2 separate regions of the Homo sapiens genome follow, and region 1 is linked to region 2. Evidence: promoter capture Hi-C in human tissues and cell types (Jung and others, 2019). All regions are on one chromosome and are shown on one strand. The core of a region is centred on a gene start or on the middle of the fragment in contact, and the rest is flanking DNA. Distances in the headings are between cores, read along the strand shown.

Region 1 (6,697 bases), core at 2,951-5,450, 1.3 Mb after region 2:
ACCACACACCAAGCAATGCAAGGAAGGACAGGAGAAACTACTCAATCCATGGGGTAGATGAAGGAAGGGCCAAAGTCATGCAATAAAAGCTGGTGTGACCCAAGCCCATGCTGCACAGGCTGCCCATGTCAGCACACCAGACCTCCATCAGCAGAGGCTTCCCACTGATGTTGATTTGACTTCCAGAAAATGAGATTCAATTGAGGGAAAAATAAAACTATGAGTTTAGTTAAAAAGGAAAATGGTAACTCACCCTTGGTATTCTTCAGTTTGCCTCAAAATTATACTGACAGTGTAAGAAAGCGTTGTATTGTAGATTAATTTGCAGTGTTTTTTTCGTTCTTAATTGTACATAAAATAACGGTGTTCTTTACCATGGCAGTAACTTTGATTTGCTGAAGATACTATGTGCAATGGGGGTAGAAAATGAGTTGTCTTCACTTAGGAAAGTACTTTGATAAGGTTAAGTCCTGAGGGAACCTAAAGGTGTTATTAGAATCAAAGCAATACACTGAGAATCAATAGCTGCTAACTTCACAAAAAGAGACACCAGGAGCCTCCTGACAGAAGTCCACAACTCTACTCATGAATTGTTCCTGCTGAAGGAATAAAACAGGAAGGAGATCAGGCCTCCAGCTCCAAATACCAGCTTACAGGAAATACAGAGGGCAAGGGAAGATGTAAAATGACATTAGACTGCAGGACACAGTACGAGACAAATGAATGACCTGATTTCCTCAACAAGTAAATTTCAAAAAAAAAAAAAAATAGAAAGAGAAGGTTCCCCTCTATACAGACTTTATTTTATAAATTAAAATAGATTTACAGACATATCATGGACTTAGTGACGCACTTCCAAAGAACAGAGTATGGAAAGGTGAAATTTAGTAACTTAACAGTGGAGAAACCTAGCAGACACAACCTTAACCAAGTGATGAAGGTTAACATCACCAGAGATGCTGTGGGGACATCATGTACCCCTGATGCACTATGACAAGAAGGGCACATCACGTCTGTGAAATTCTTCCCAAATAGTCCCCCCTTTTTTTTTTTTTTTTGAGATAGAGTCTCGCTCTGTCACCCAGGCTGGAGTGCAGTGGTGTAATCTTGGCTCGCTGCAACCTCCACATCCCAGGTTCAAGCAATTATTGTGCCTTAGCCTCCCAAGTAGCTGGGATTACAGGCATGCGCCACCATACCTGGCTAACTTTTGTATTTTTAGTACAGATGGGGTTTTGCCATGTTGGCCAGGCTGGTCTCAAACTCCTGACCTCAAGTGATCCACCCACCTTAGCCTCCCAAAGTGCTGGGATTACAAGCGTGAGCCACCATGCCTGGCCTTCCCAAAGTGTCTTAATCCCAGCTAATCATGACAAAAATATTGGACAAACCCATATTGAGGGAAACTCTGCAAAATACCTGACCACGACGCCTCAAAATTTTCAAGATCATGAAAAACAAAACCTGAGGACCTGTCACCGATGGGAGGAGTCTGAGACACAATAACTAAATGCAGTGTGGGGTCCTGGATGGGATCTTGAAACAGAAAGAGGACATTCATAGAAAAAGGAGTGAAATTTGAATAAAGTCTGGAGTTTGCTCATAGTAAAGTGCTGATAATATTTTCTTAGTTTTGACAAATATACAGTAATATGCAAGATATTGACATTAGAACTAGCTAGCGAACGAGTGCATGAGCGTTCTCTGTAGTACCTTTGCAGTTTTTCTGTAAATATGACACCAAAATTAAGTTTATTTTTTTAGAAAGACATACCAACCAATTGTAATATAGGAACTTTATTTGGATTCTGATTCAAACAATGAAACTTTTATTTATTTATTTATTTATTTATTTATTTATTTATTTATCTATTTATCTTTTGAGACAGAGTCTTGCTCTGTCACCCAGGCTGGAGAGCAGTGGTGCGTTCTCAGCTCACTGCAGCCTCCACCTCCTGGGGTTCAAGCGATCCTCCCACCTCAGCTTCCCTAGTAGCTGGGACCACAGGCACACACTACCACCCCTGCCTACTTTTTGTATTTAGTAGAGACAGGGTTTACCATGTCGCCCAAGTTGGTCTTGAACTCCTGAGTTCAAACGATCCTCCTGCCTCAGCATCCCAAAGTGCTGGCATTACAGTCATGAGCCACCATGCCTGGCCTAAAATATTTTAAAAATAACATTGATAAGACAATTGGAAACCTCACAGTGACTGGACATTAAATGTGATTAAGGAGTCATGATTCATTCATTTGTAGGTGTGACAATGGCATTGTAGTTATGCTTTTTAAAAAGAGTACATATGAGGTTCCTCGAAGCATTAAGCATGGAATTATCATATGATCCAGCAATTCTACTCTGGGTATATACACAAAAGAACTGAAAACGGCATCTTGAAGAGATATTTGTACAACCATGGTTCAGAGCAGCATTACTCACAATAACTAAAGGGTAGAAACAATCCAAGTGTCCACTGATGGATAAATGGATAAACAAATTGTGGTGTGTATGTGTATCTACACAATGGAATATTATTCAGCTTTAGGAAGGAAGGAAATTGTGACATGCGACAACATGGATGGATCTGGAGGACCTTATGCTAAGTGAAGTAAGCCAGTCTCAAATGGACAAATATACAATTCCATTTACTACCTAGAATAGGCAAATTCATAGAGACAGAAAGTAGAGGCTGGGCGCAGCGGCTCACCCCTGTAATCCCAGCACTTTGGGAGGCCAAGGTGGGTGGATCATGAGGTCAGGAGATTGAGACTATCCAGGCTAACACGGTGAAACCCCATCTCTACTAAAAATATAAAAAATTAGCCGGCCATGGTGGCAGGCGCCTGTAGTCCCAGCTACTCTGGAGGCTGAGGCAGGAGAATGGCATGAACCCGGGAGGCAGAGCTTGCAGTGAGCCGAGATCGCACCACTGCACTCCAGCCTGGGAAACAGAGCGAGACTCCATTTCAAAAAAAAAAAAAAAGAAAGTAGAGTGGTGGATGACAGGGGCTGGAGGGAAGCAAGGAAGGGGAGTTATAGTTTAATGGTTGCAGAGTTTCAGTTCGGGAAGAAGGGAAAGCTCTGGAGATGGATGGTGGTGACAGCTGCAAGACAATATGAATGTACTAATGCCACTAAACTGCACACTTAAAAATGGTTAAAATGGCAAATGTTATGTTATATACATATTCTACCACAATTTTTAAAAAGGGGGTCAGGCACACACCTGGCTAATTTTTAAAATTTATTTGTAGAGACAGGATCTCACTATGTTGCCCAGGCTGGTCTCAAATTCCTAACATCAAGCTATCCTCCTGCCTCAGCCTCCCAAAGTGCTAGGATTATAGGCACAAGCCAGAGCATTCAGCCAGGAACCAAGATTTTTCAGAAAGGAAAGCTCATGAACTATTGGATGGACACCTGGCTTCTGCTCTGAAGGTCACCTGCTATTTGACTCAACTGTGTCACCCTTTCCAGGCCTGCGTCCATCAGGGAGATGTCAACCAGATGAGCTCCAAGTCCTCCTGCTCAACAATGATGTGACTCAATTCCCTCTCCAGGGGGAGGAAAATCCCTGAGAGCACGACTAAAGCTCTTTTCCTCCCAGATTTCAAGGAAACACACAGAAAAGAAAGAAGCAAGGCTGGCAAGCAGAGGCCTGACATGGGGATGGATCATATCCGAGGGTGATGCAGACTCCAGGGATGGGCAGGGTATGGCTCTCTCTACCCTGTGGGCAAGTGACTTACTGAGAGCTGGTTGCACAAGCTTAAGAAAGGAGTAGACATCTATACTCTTCCTCTCTTTTTGCCCCTGGGCATTTCAACTTGATATCTTAGATGGTACAGTTTGAGGAGGTGATGGTGCATGGATCCCAGGCCTCTGGTCGCTTTGGGGTGACCTCAGAAGGTGCTCAGCTACCTGCTGCCGAGTTCCTGAGTCATGCAGAACTGAGTTCATTCAGACTCCATCCGTGGCGGCATGACTAGCTGCTCTGCAAGGATTGTTGTTATTTGTCTTACTCATTCTAAGACTGAAATTATACCAAGTGGTTAACGTTGGGCAAATTACTTGGCAAAGTCAGTCATTCCCAAGGAACTTCTATCTCATCCTGAGACAATGGCAAACTCTTCTGTTTTGAGGCTCACAAAGAAGCTCTGCTCAAACTGTGAATGGGAAGTTTTCTCCCTCAAACAGTAGTTGACATTGACAGTGACACTAAGAGCTATTTGTGCACTGAAAGAATCTCAACTTTATTAACTTGCTTAATCACCGGAAAGGAAAGTTTCGGAGAAGTTACCTGATTTGGACAGATGTTCTGTCCATCCTCTGTTCAAACTGGATAAAGTCCTGGCCCACCGGACTCTGGCCCATCCTACAAGGCAAGGGAGGCTGCTAGACACCCAACATGGCCACAATGACTGCATTCGACCAGGGGCCCTACCCCCTCTTTAAAATGAGCTGTGCATTCATCTTTTCAGGGTCACAAGTTTCAAAGAGCTCCCTGGGCTCAGTGGCCCAGTTGGTGGGGTAATCCACACATCCTTGGCTAATGAGTTCATTCATTCCCCAACTATTTGTTAAGCATTTACTCAATCCTTATCTTCAGCTCCAGAAATATAAAGATGAATAAAACAGACACAGCTTCCTGCCTTGAGGAGCTGACACTTTCAGATTTGAATGAGACTATGAAGAAATTTGTCTGTAGCATTCTCTTTCCAGAACTCTGCACTCCACTTCCATAGCTTACCTCCCCACCAAGCTAATACCCACTCCTTTCATCCCTTGCTCACAACACAGGCAATCTCAGCTAACTTTACTGTGCATTTACTATGTGCCAAGCACTGTGCTAAATGTGTTACATATATTACCTCATTAATCTTTACAACACCCGATTCATGGACCCAGTTCATGGATGAGGAAAGTGAGGCACATGTAGGTGAAAGGAGTTGGCACAAGCCAGTAAAGTTGCAGAGGCAGTATTTGTATTTGTTTTTGTTTTTGTTTGAGATGGAGTCTCGCTTTGTCACCCAGGCTGGAGTGCAGTGGTGCAATCTCAGCTCACCACAACCTCCACCTCCCGGGTTTAGGTGATTCTCCTGCCTCATCCTCCTGAGTAGCTGGGACTACAGGATCATACCACCATGCCTGGCTAATTTTTGTATTTTTAGTAGAGACGGGGTTTCACCGTGTTGGCCAGGCTGGTCTTGAACTCCTGATCTTAGGTGATCTGCTTGCCTCAGCCTCCCAAATTGCTGGGATTACAGGCGTGAGCCACCGCACCCGGCAAGAGACAGTATTTGAATCCAGGACATCTGACTGCAGAATGCACATTCATAGTCGCTGAGCCATTCCATCTTACCCACTTAGGTCAAGTCCTTTATTTGCAGTGAATCACATGGGTTTGCTCTCCCTTCCATTTTCCATAGCAGCAGAAAAATCTCCTAAGCCTGCCTTAGGATGGGGTTCAGGCACAAGTGACTGGAAGCTTAAAAAAGAGACGTTTATTCTTCTTTCATGTAAAAAGCTAGGTAGGTATCCAGGGCTGGTGCAGGCTCCTTCTCTGTGCTTGTTCAGGTGTACGTGGCTCAAGGGCATTTGCAGAGCACAGGTTTGTGTCGGGGGCGGGGGGGGGGTGGTCTTAACCAAGCACCATTATTATTTGAGAATCTCATCACTAAAAGCAATGGCTCCATTTGATTTAACTCCGCCCATCTGTTCACTCAGGAGAGAAGGGTGGCTACGGAATTCAGGGCCCAGTGTAGTTGGCCATGTGTTTATGGCTTGACTCAGTCTGGATGCTGGGCTCTCTAAGTCTGGGGCACATCACCCTGGGAGTTCCTTGACTCTCCCTTGGGCTGTATCTGTACTTCATATATCTAGAGGCAAGTACACAAAGAAGCTAAGAAAGCTCCAGTGTGCTTCCCTGGTCATAGGTCTTTGTCAAATTTGCAAAGGCACGTATTCTGACTGCCAAAAAAAGCCTTCCCTCCACTTTCTTTCCATCAAACTTCCCCTTATACAATGTAGCATTGATTGGCTGTGGGCATTTTGGGATCAGGCTAAAGGGATGTTAACTCAGACATACATTTATTATAATTGGGGTCTGGTGGGATATATTTATTTGATTCATGGTCACATTCATGTATAGTTAAGCCATTGCTTGTTCTCACATTGTAGTAATGGCTTCTAGGAATACTCCTCCCATCCACTGGGCTGACTCACAAGGTAAGGTGACCAGAAGGAGCAAGGCCAGAGGTGATATTACATTATGAACCTGTGCTACAGTGTCCAACACCCAGAGTATGTGCACAGTGGAGGAGGAGGAATAAAGTGAAATGTACAGATCCGGAAGAAGCTAGTCTGTGGAAAATTTTTCCAATTATCAAAGCTAAAATTTTAAGCAGAACATGCAACTCATCATGGCTTATCAAAAATGATGGGCTTTTTTTTCTGTCAGAAACAAATTGGTAATCAGCAGTATAATTTTGAATGCACTATACTATTTTGATCTTTATATTTAATAGGAATCACACAAATGGAATTTATAGGAATTTCTGTATTTGTAGGGCACAAAACTATAATGGTTCTATGGACAGTGAGTATTTCTGCATGTGAATTCACAGGTCTTACGGATCTCAACATATCAGTTGCATCTTATCTGATGCATCTTGCAAAATGACCTGGAGAATGACT
Region 2 (6,996 bases), core at 593-3,092:
AATGGTCAGGTTCTTCCCTCGATGTGCCTTGTGCAGACTGCCCCCTGGGTTGAAGTGGGGTGTTACTACGCAGATGGAAACAGCGGCAGAGGTATTTGCTAAATGTCCCATCAAGAAACGCATACAGGAGAGGGTTGATGCAGCAGTGGGTGGTGGCGATGAGTTTAGTGATGTGAACACTTTTGTCCAGATTGTAGCTGCTCTTGCAGTCACTCAGGGAGAAGTGTTCTTTGAAAGTGGACAGGAAAAATGCAATATTGTAGGGCGCCCACATCAGAAGGAAGACTACCATTATGGCAAAAACAAGCTTGAAAAGGCTATACCTCTGCTCCCTGAACCTTAGTGTTTTTCTCATTTGCACATAGAGAAATGTAAAAATAAATAGGGGGAGGACAAGAACCGAAATGTTCATTTTTAAAGTCAGAAAATGCTTCCAGAATGTCTCATCAGCTGGCAGGAAGGGAGTTCTGCTAAATGCACACTTGTATTTCTGGTCTTCCATCTGAGGTTTATAAACCACGAATTCAGGCAAAGTGGCCAGAATGGCTGTTACCCATGCCAGGACACTTGTAATGATGCCACAGGGCACCCTCCTCCTGGCTGAGAAAAAGTTTCCCTTGTGCAAAAACACTAGGTACCTTTGCACAGTCAGAAGGCAATTGAAAAATGTCTCACTGTACAGGCCCACGAAGTACAGTCCAATGAGAATTTTACACATGGGATCGCCCCCAGCATGAGCCCAGAAGGGCAGGGTAAGCAAGAAACACAAGTTAGAAACTGCCAAGTTTAGAAGATAGATATTTTCCACGCGTTTGAGTCCTTTATATTTTACCAGGATAAGCACAACCAGGAGATTGTCCAGGACACCGATCACAAACACAGCAGAGCAGAGTGATGGCACCAGCTGGGCTGAGAGTGCCTGGGCGTCATACTTGTCACATTGCTCTGCCTCATCGCTCTCCAGTTCACCTTCTATGAGGACATCATATTCATCCTCTGGTGCCAGCGTGTAATTGGCCATCTTCAGACTGCCCTGTGGAGAAATGGGAGATGATTTTCCCCTCCGACAGCTGCCTTATCCTGGAGGAAACAACAAACTGGACCTGGATTCATACAGCCCCACTTTCCCTTTCTGGAGCTACATTTTAGCCAGAGTAATTCCCTATTTCAGAAGACTGAAATAAACATTTCTTTAACGTGTGCCCACTTCCCCAGAGCAGCACCATTCCCAATCTAGTTGTTAAGCATGTAAGTGCTTAGCAGTGTGCCAGGTGCCACGGGAAATAAAGCTGGCATGACACCGCCTTGGTAGAACTTACCTTCTTTTAGCAGAAACAGGACTTGCCTACATGAACACAATATGTAAGAAAATATATAATTAAAGAGAACCAAGTACGATGGCTTACTTTTAAGAAACGGGTGTAGATCATAATTTCTGCATTTTAAAAAGTTTGCTCACCCCCCGAAGCAGCTTCCTGTGACAGCTGAGACGTTTTTCTCTCGAAGGGTATAAATAAATGTTTGCAAAAGTGAAACCATGCTCAGCATCAACATGGCCATAAGGGGTTAAATACATAGATGACACACAGATGACTTACCACTGGGCTGAGCTCCTGCAGGGGAAGGGCGCAGCCTCCAGACCCAGCATCCGGGAGCTGTGGGAATGGCCCCGGACAGTGGATGCCCTCCTTTTGATCAGACTGCTCCTGACCCTGAGGGGCACGAGAAACCACTGTTGATTCCCCTGGTGGCTCTACCCGCCCCACTCACCGAGCTCAGGGACCAACTGAAATAAAGTACTCAAAAGCTCCCCCAGGCCTCCAGAGGATCTCTGAAGCGTCTGAAAGCAACCGGGAAGTTGTTTCCTCCTCCCTCTGGCCCTGTACCCCGCCTTTGATTTCCCTGTGACCTTTGACAGCCGTCTTCTGGCCTTCTGAGATAAGGGAACTGTGTCACTGCCGCTCTGAGTGGTAGCAAGGAAGTGATGTCAAGGTGCTGAGAACTGCCAAGACGCTCTGGCTTGTGGCATGTGACACTCTGAGTAGGTAACAGGTACCAGCTACTGTCAGCAGGGAGGAAGGTATGTGGTGACCACGAGTCCAGACCTGAGGGTCCTGACCCTCTAATGCGGCCTCTCACCAGTGTTCGCAGAAACCCACCCGCTGATTCAATACGGGGACCAGGAACCTGCCATGACAGTCACGGTGTGTTTGGGTTTTTATTGTCATTTTTGAGGGGCACTGTGTGCTTTGGTTAAGACTGAGGCCTCAAAAGAGAATTTTAGGAAAATGGAAGCCACAGGGTGATGTCAGCTGGGAAAAGGCCAGGGGCAGAGGTGGGGTCTCAGCGGCAGTGAGCATAGGGCTGCCCTGGGTGTCAACACTGAGGAAAGCAAAGGGGTTTGCAAGCAGCCAGAAGTGATTGGTGCTGTGACTCATGGGGGAGCTGACCCCACTCGGAAAAGGAGAACCCAGAGGAGGAAAATCCCGTGGTGATGACACAGAGGCGACATCAAGTTGGGTGGGAGAGAATGTGAGGAGGACAAGTTTAACCCCAAACTGAGGCTGGGGGCTAGGGTAGGTTTGAGTCCAGAGAGAAGGAAATTGAGAGAACAGCCCAGATTTGGAATGGTGGGAGGAGGCTGTGGGGAGGGGAGGCTGTGGGAAGAGAGTGGGACGGGGAGGGCACGGTCTGGAAGAAGGACGAACCGAGAAGAGGAACTTGAAAATAATGAAAAAATCTAGATGAGCTTCTCTTGGGTCAACGACTCAGCAGCTGTGACTAACCTAATTTGGGGATCAGACCTATTTGCTTAGAATTTATATATTGATTAAATGACATCCTTTTCCCACCAAAGATGTGTCTGAGGTAGGATTGAATACAAAATTTGTACCTGTCAAAATAGAAATAGAAAATTAAGAAACTAGCCTGGCACTGAGGCGCATTCCTACAGCCCCAGCTACTCAGAAGTATGAGGTGGGAGGGTCGCTTGAGCCCAGGAGTTTGAGGCCAGCCTGGGCAACATAGTGAGATCCCGGATCTATAAACAATATAAAAATTAGCCAGATGCAGTGGCAAGTGCCTGTAATCCCAGACATTCCAGAGGCCAAGGTGGGATGTTCACGTGAGCCCAGGAGTTGGAGGCTGCGGTGAGCCATGATCATGCCACTCTGCACTCTGGCCTGGGTGGCAGAGCGAGACACTGTCTCTGGAAAAAAAAAAGAAGAAGGAGGAGGAGGGGCGGGGAGAGGAAGGGAGGAGAGAGAACTATTAAGAGAAAAATAAACACAGAAAGAGCCCAGACAAATATGTGATTGAGCATTAAATTTAACTCCACGTGTGCCGACAGACAAGGCAGAAAGAGAAACACAATGATGTTTGATGGCAGAGGAGTTGGTGCTGGTGGGAACCTAAGCTGTAAGTGCCCTCTCCTCTCTTGTGTGGGTCTCCTGTGAGTGAGTGAGTGGGGGTCATGGTGCCCTGGGACACTCTTCCCACCCCCTACAGCCTGGGATCAGCAGTGGCCCCTCCTCCTGGGTCTCTCCACCTCCTGCAGCTGGGCAGGACACTCAGGATCTTGAATGAGTAGGTGCGGGCAGCTTTACTCTCGATACTCATGGATCAGTTCCAGGAAAAGGAAGGAAAGTCAAGTCAGACTTTGAAACTTGCAAAACGCTGGGAGTACGCACACTCTTCCTCATTAGTAGAGGACAAAAACAGCAGTCAGGCACCTCATGTACCGCATGTCACAGAGTCATGTGAGATGTGAAATTTCCCAAGTAAAAACACAGAATCATGTGAGGTGTGAAATTTCCCAAAGAAAAATGTTTTGTAAATTCAGGATCACCCTGGCTTACTAATATTAGCATGACCTTCACTTTCAGTATTATTTTATTTTTGCCTGATTCCCAGCATTCTGCCTATCCACACTCAGGCCATGAGGTCCTTGAAACTTCTACATAGGAAGGAAGGAAGAGTTTAGAAGGCTGCAGTTGAGGCGAAAGGAAAGTTCTCTTTATTATTCTCATATCTGAAGCCATAATAGGGCCTCCTTGTTTGTGAAACGACATCACATTCTGCAGCCTTGGCAAGTGGTCCACAAAGCTTACCTCTGAAGGTCTGAGTTCCTCTTTATCACTATAATTTGACCCCAGTTTTAGTCGAAGGAACTATCACTGTATACTCTCATTCCCCACTACGTGTAGATCACTCATTTACTTAATTCAATTATTCAGCAAGTATTTCTAGAGTGCCTAGCCTGTGCCTAGCTCTGTTCCAGGTGCTGGGGATGCACCAATGGACAAAATAGGCAAAAATCCTGACCTTCACAGAGCTCAAGTAAATTGTAGATTAGTAGGAGAGAAGTGCTATGGAGAAGGCGAAGCAGGGAAGGACAGCAAGAGAGGCCAAGGTGGCTCAGGGATCACATTTTAAATAGTGTAGTCAGAAAAAGCCTTGCTGAGAGCTGGCTGTGGTGGCTCATGCCTGTAATCCCAGCACTTTGGGAGGCTGAGGTGGGTGGATCACTTGAGGTCAGGAGTTTGAGAACAGCCTGGCCGACATGGCAAAACTTCATCTCTACTAAAAATACAAAAATTAGCCAGGAGGGGTGGCGATGGGTGCCCGTAATCCCAGCTACTCGGGAGGCTGAAGCAGGAGAATCACTCGAACCCAGGAGGTGGAGGTTGCCGTGAGCCAAGATTGTGCCACTGCACTCCGGCCTGGGTGACAGAGTGAGACTCCATCTTAAAAAAAAAAAAAAAAAAAAAAAAAGAGAGAGAGAGAGAGAGAGAGAGAGAGAGAAAGCCTTGCTGAGAAGATGGGCACTAAAGCCACAAATGGTTGGGTCCAATAGTTCATGATCATTGTCTCATTCTTTCTTGTCACTAAGTTCTTATATCAGGGAGGTTGAAAACACACACTGGGTGATAACCTTAGCAATAATTTTACCGAAGACGCAGACATATTCTTCTTAATATATTGACCCTCAATAAAAAAGGCAAAGGATGTGAGGCTCCAGTTACTGATTTATCGCCTTTCAGCTCTTCATTCACTCTTCTGTGTTCTGCTTTGTGAGTCTAGAGCTGGACCCCATAAACATTTCTCCTTTGCCAGTTGCTGTAGAAGGCATAAGAGGGTCGCAGTAAGAGGCAGAGTTTTTTCTTTCTGGTTCTGGGATTTGTTTTTATTTTGTTTTTGTTCTTTTGGCTGATTTGCCAGTGCTGGGTGGAGACCCTGCAGTGCCCACTCCTCAGTGAATTTTGCCGACACCACGACAGTGGCTTCCTGCTGACTTTTGCTGGCACCCTACTGGGTAGCTTCCTAGTAAATTTTGCTGGCACTCCAAGAGCGTCTTCCTCGCCAGAGGCATGCCCACATTCTTGGGAATCTCACTGGTACCCCTTCGGGCAGTTTCCTGCTCAGCAGCCCCAACCTGCCACAACTCTGCAAACTTCTTGGGCATCCATTGGGTTGCAGCCACACCCCCTCCAACAAGGGTGGATCAGCTGGGGAGGGAGGGCATTTTTTGAGTTCGCCCCTTCCTTGGCTGCTGTGCCTTAGCTTAGAGGTTATGGCTGCTCTCTACATCTGCCATTCCTGCATTCTTCAGCATTCTCCTTACCCCCTTTAGTAGTTCATACCCTTTTATAAGTTAATAACTCATTATATTTAATGTTCATGTGTGGTTTCTGTCTTGACTGTATGCTGATTGATACACACAACATTAAATTTAGTTCAGGGAAGGGATGGGGAAATGCTAGGATGATGCCTTTTTTAGAGATCTAACTTGATCTTGAGAAATAGGTATTAGATCAAAGAGCTAAAAACAGAAATCCCATTACTGGGTATACACCCAGAGGAATATAAATCATTCTACCATGAAGACACACGCATGTGAATGTTCATTGCAGCACTATTCACAGTAGCAAAGACATGGAATAAACCTAAATGCCCATCAATGACAGATTAGATAAAGAAAGTGTGGTACATATACACCATGGAATACTATGCAGCCATGAAAAGAACGAGATCATGTTTTTTTGTGGAAACACGAATGGAGCTGGAGGCTATTACCCTTAGCAAACTAACACAGGAACAGAAAACCAAATACCTTGTATTCTCACTTATAAGTGGGAGCTAAATGATGAGAACACATGAACTCAAAGAAGGGAACAACAGACACCGGGGTCTACTTGAGACTGGAGGGCGGGAGGAGGGAGAGGAGCAGAAAAGATACCTATTGAGTACTGGGCTTGATAGCTGAGTGATGAAATAATTTGTACAACAAACCCTCATGACAAAAGGTTACCTACGTAACAAGCTTTCACATGTACCCCAGAACCTAAAATAAAAGTTCAAAAAATTATTGTTTAAATGCATAATAACAAATTTGGAAAATTTCAAAAAAAGAGAAATAGGTATTAGAATGTTTAGACTGATGATAATTTAATCTGTCCCTTACTATGGCTTCTTCAAATATAATCTTTCTTAGATTATCAATTAGTCAATCCATCTATCTAATTTTTATTAGCAAATAAAATGTTACAGAAAATTTGTATAGAGAAAAACTATGATAGTGATAATCTCACATAATAGCCATTATAAGTTTTAAATACCACTGCTTCTTAATGGGAAATGTAGAAAAACTACTTTTAGAAAACAATCAATTTTCTTCTGAATTAGTTGTTTGATATTGAGTAGTAGATCAAAGAGGTAAATAATGGCATATAATTTTAAGGCTTCGGAGACCATCTTATCCTGCCCCCAGATTTTCTTTCCCATAATTGGCTGATCCCTAAAATTCCACCTCAGTACCCAATAATTAGTAGCTGTGATACCTGGGAGGGCAGATAATATTTCTAAAATACAGCTGTGTTGATAATCCACCCTGGAAATACAGATTTTATATGTACTTACTGGGAGTGAAATAGTGTTGACTATTCCCTAAAGCAGTCTTTCTCAATGCATGTTGAGTTTATTCCGCAGTATGCTAAA

Evidence for each region. Contacts are between HindIII fragments. The study calls those that stand out against the background at their distance.
Region 1: a contact is called between a fragment that was not itself captured here and the fragment with the promoter of CCRL2 in region 2, in 1 of the 25 tissues and cell types used here (lymphoblastoid cells).

The regions. Positions count from the first base shown.
Region 1 is chr3:45,152,052-45,158,748 of GRCh38, reverse strand. No RefSeq gene overlaps it. Among named protein-coding and RNA genes, the nearest start is that of CDCP1, 9.0 kb to the right of the region's middle. The HindIII fragment of the contact is 6,481 bases long and covers 960-6,697 here.
Region 2 is chr3:46,402,105-46,409,100 of GRCh38, reverse strand. CCRL2 (C-C motif chemokine receptor like 2) reads right to left here and starts at 1,842. Exons shown (of 2, transcript NM_003965.5): 1 at 1,599-1,842; 2 at 1-1,033. The coding sequence starts at 1,021. It overlaps CCR5AS (CCR5 antisense RNA), which reads left to right and starts at 2,035. Exons shown (of 4, transcript NR_125406.2): 1 at 2,035-2,204. The HindIII fragment of the contact is 5,778 bases long and covers 1-2,206 here.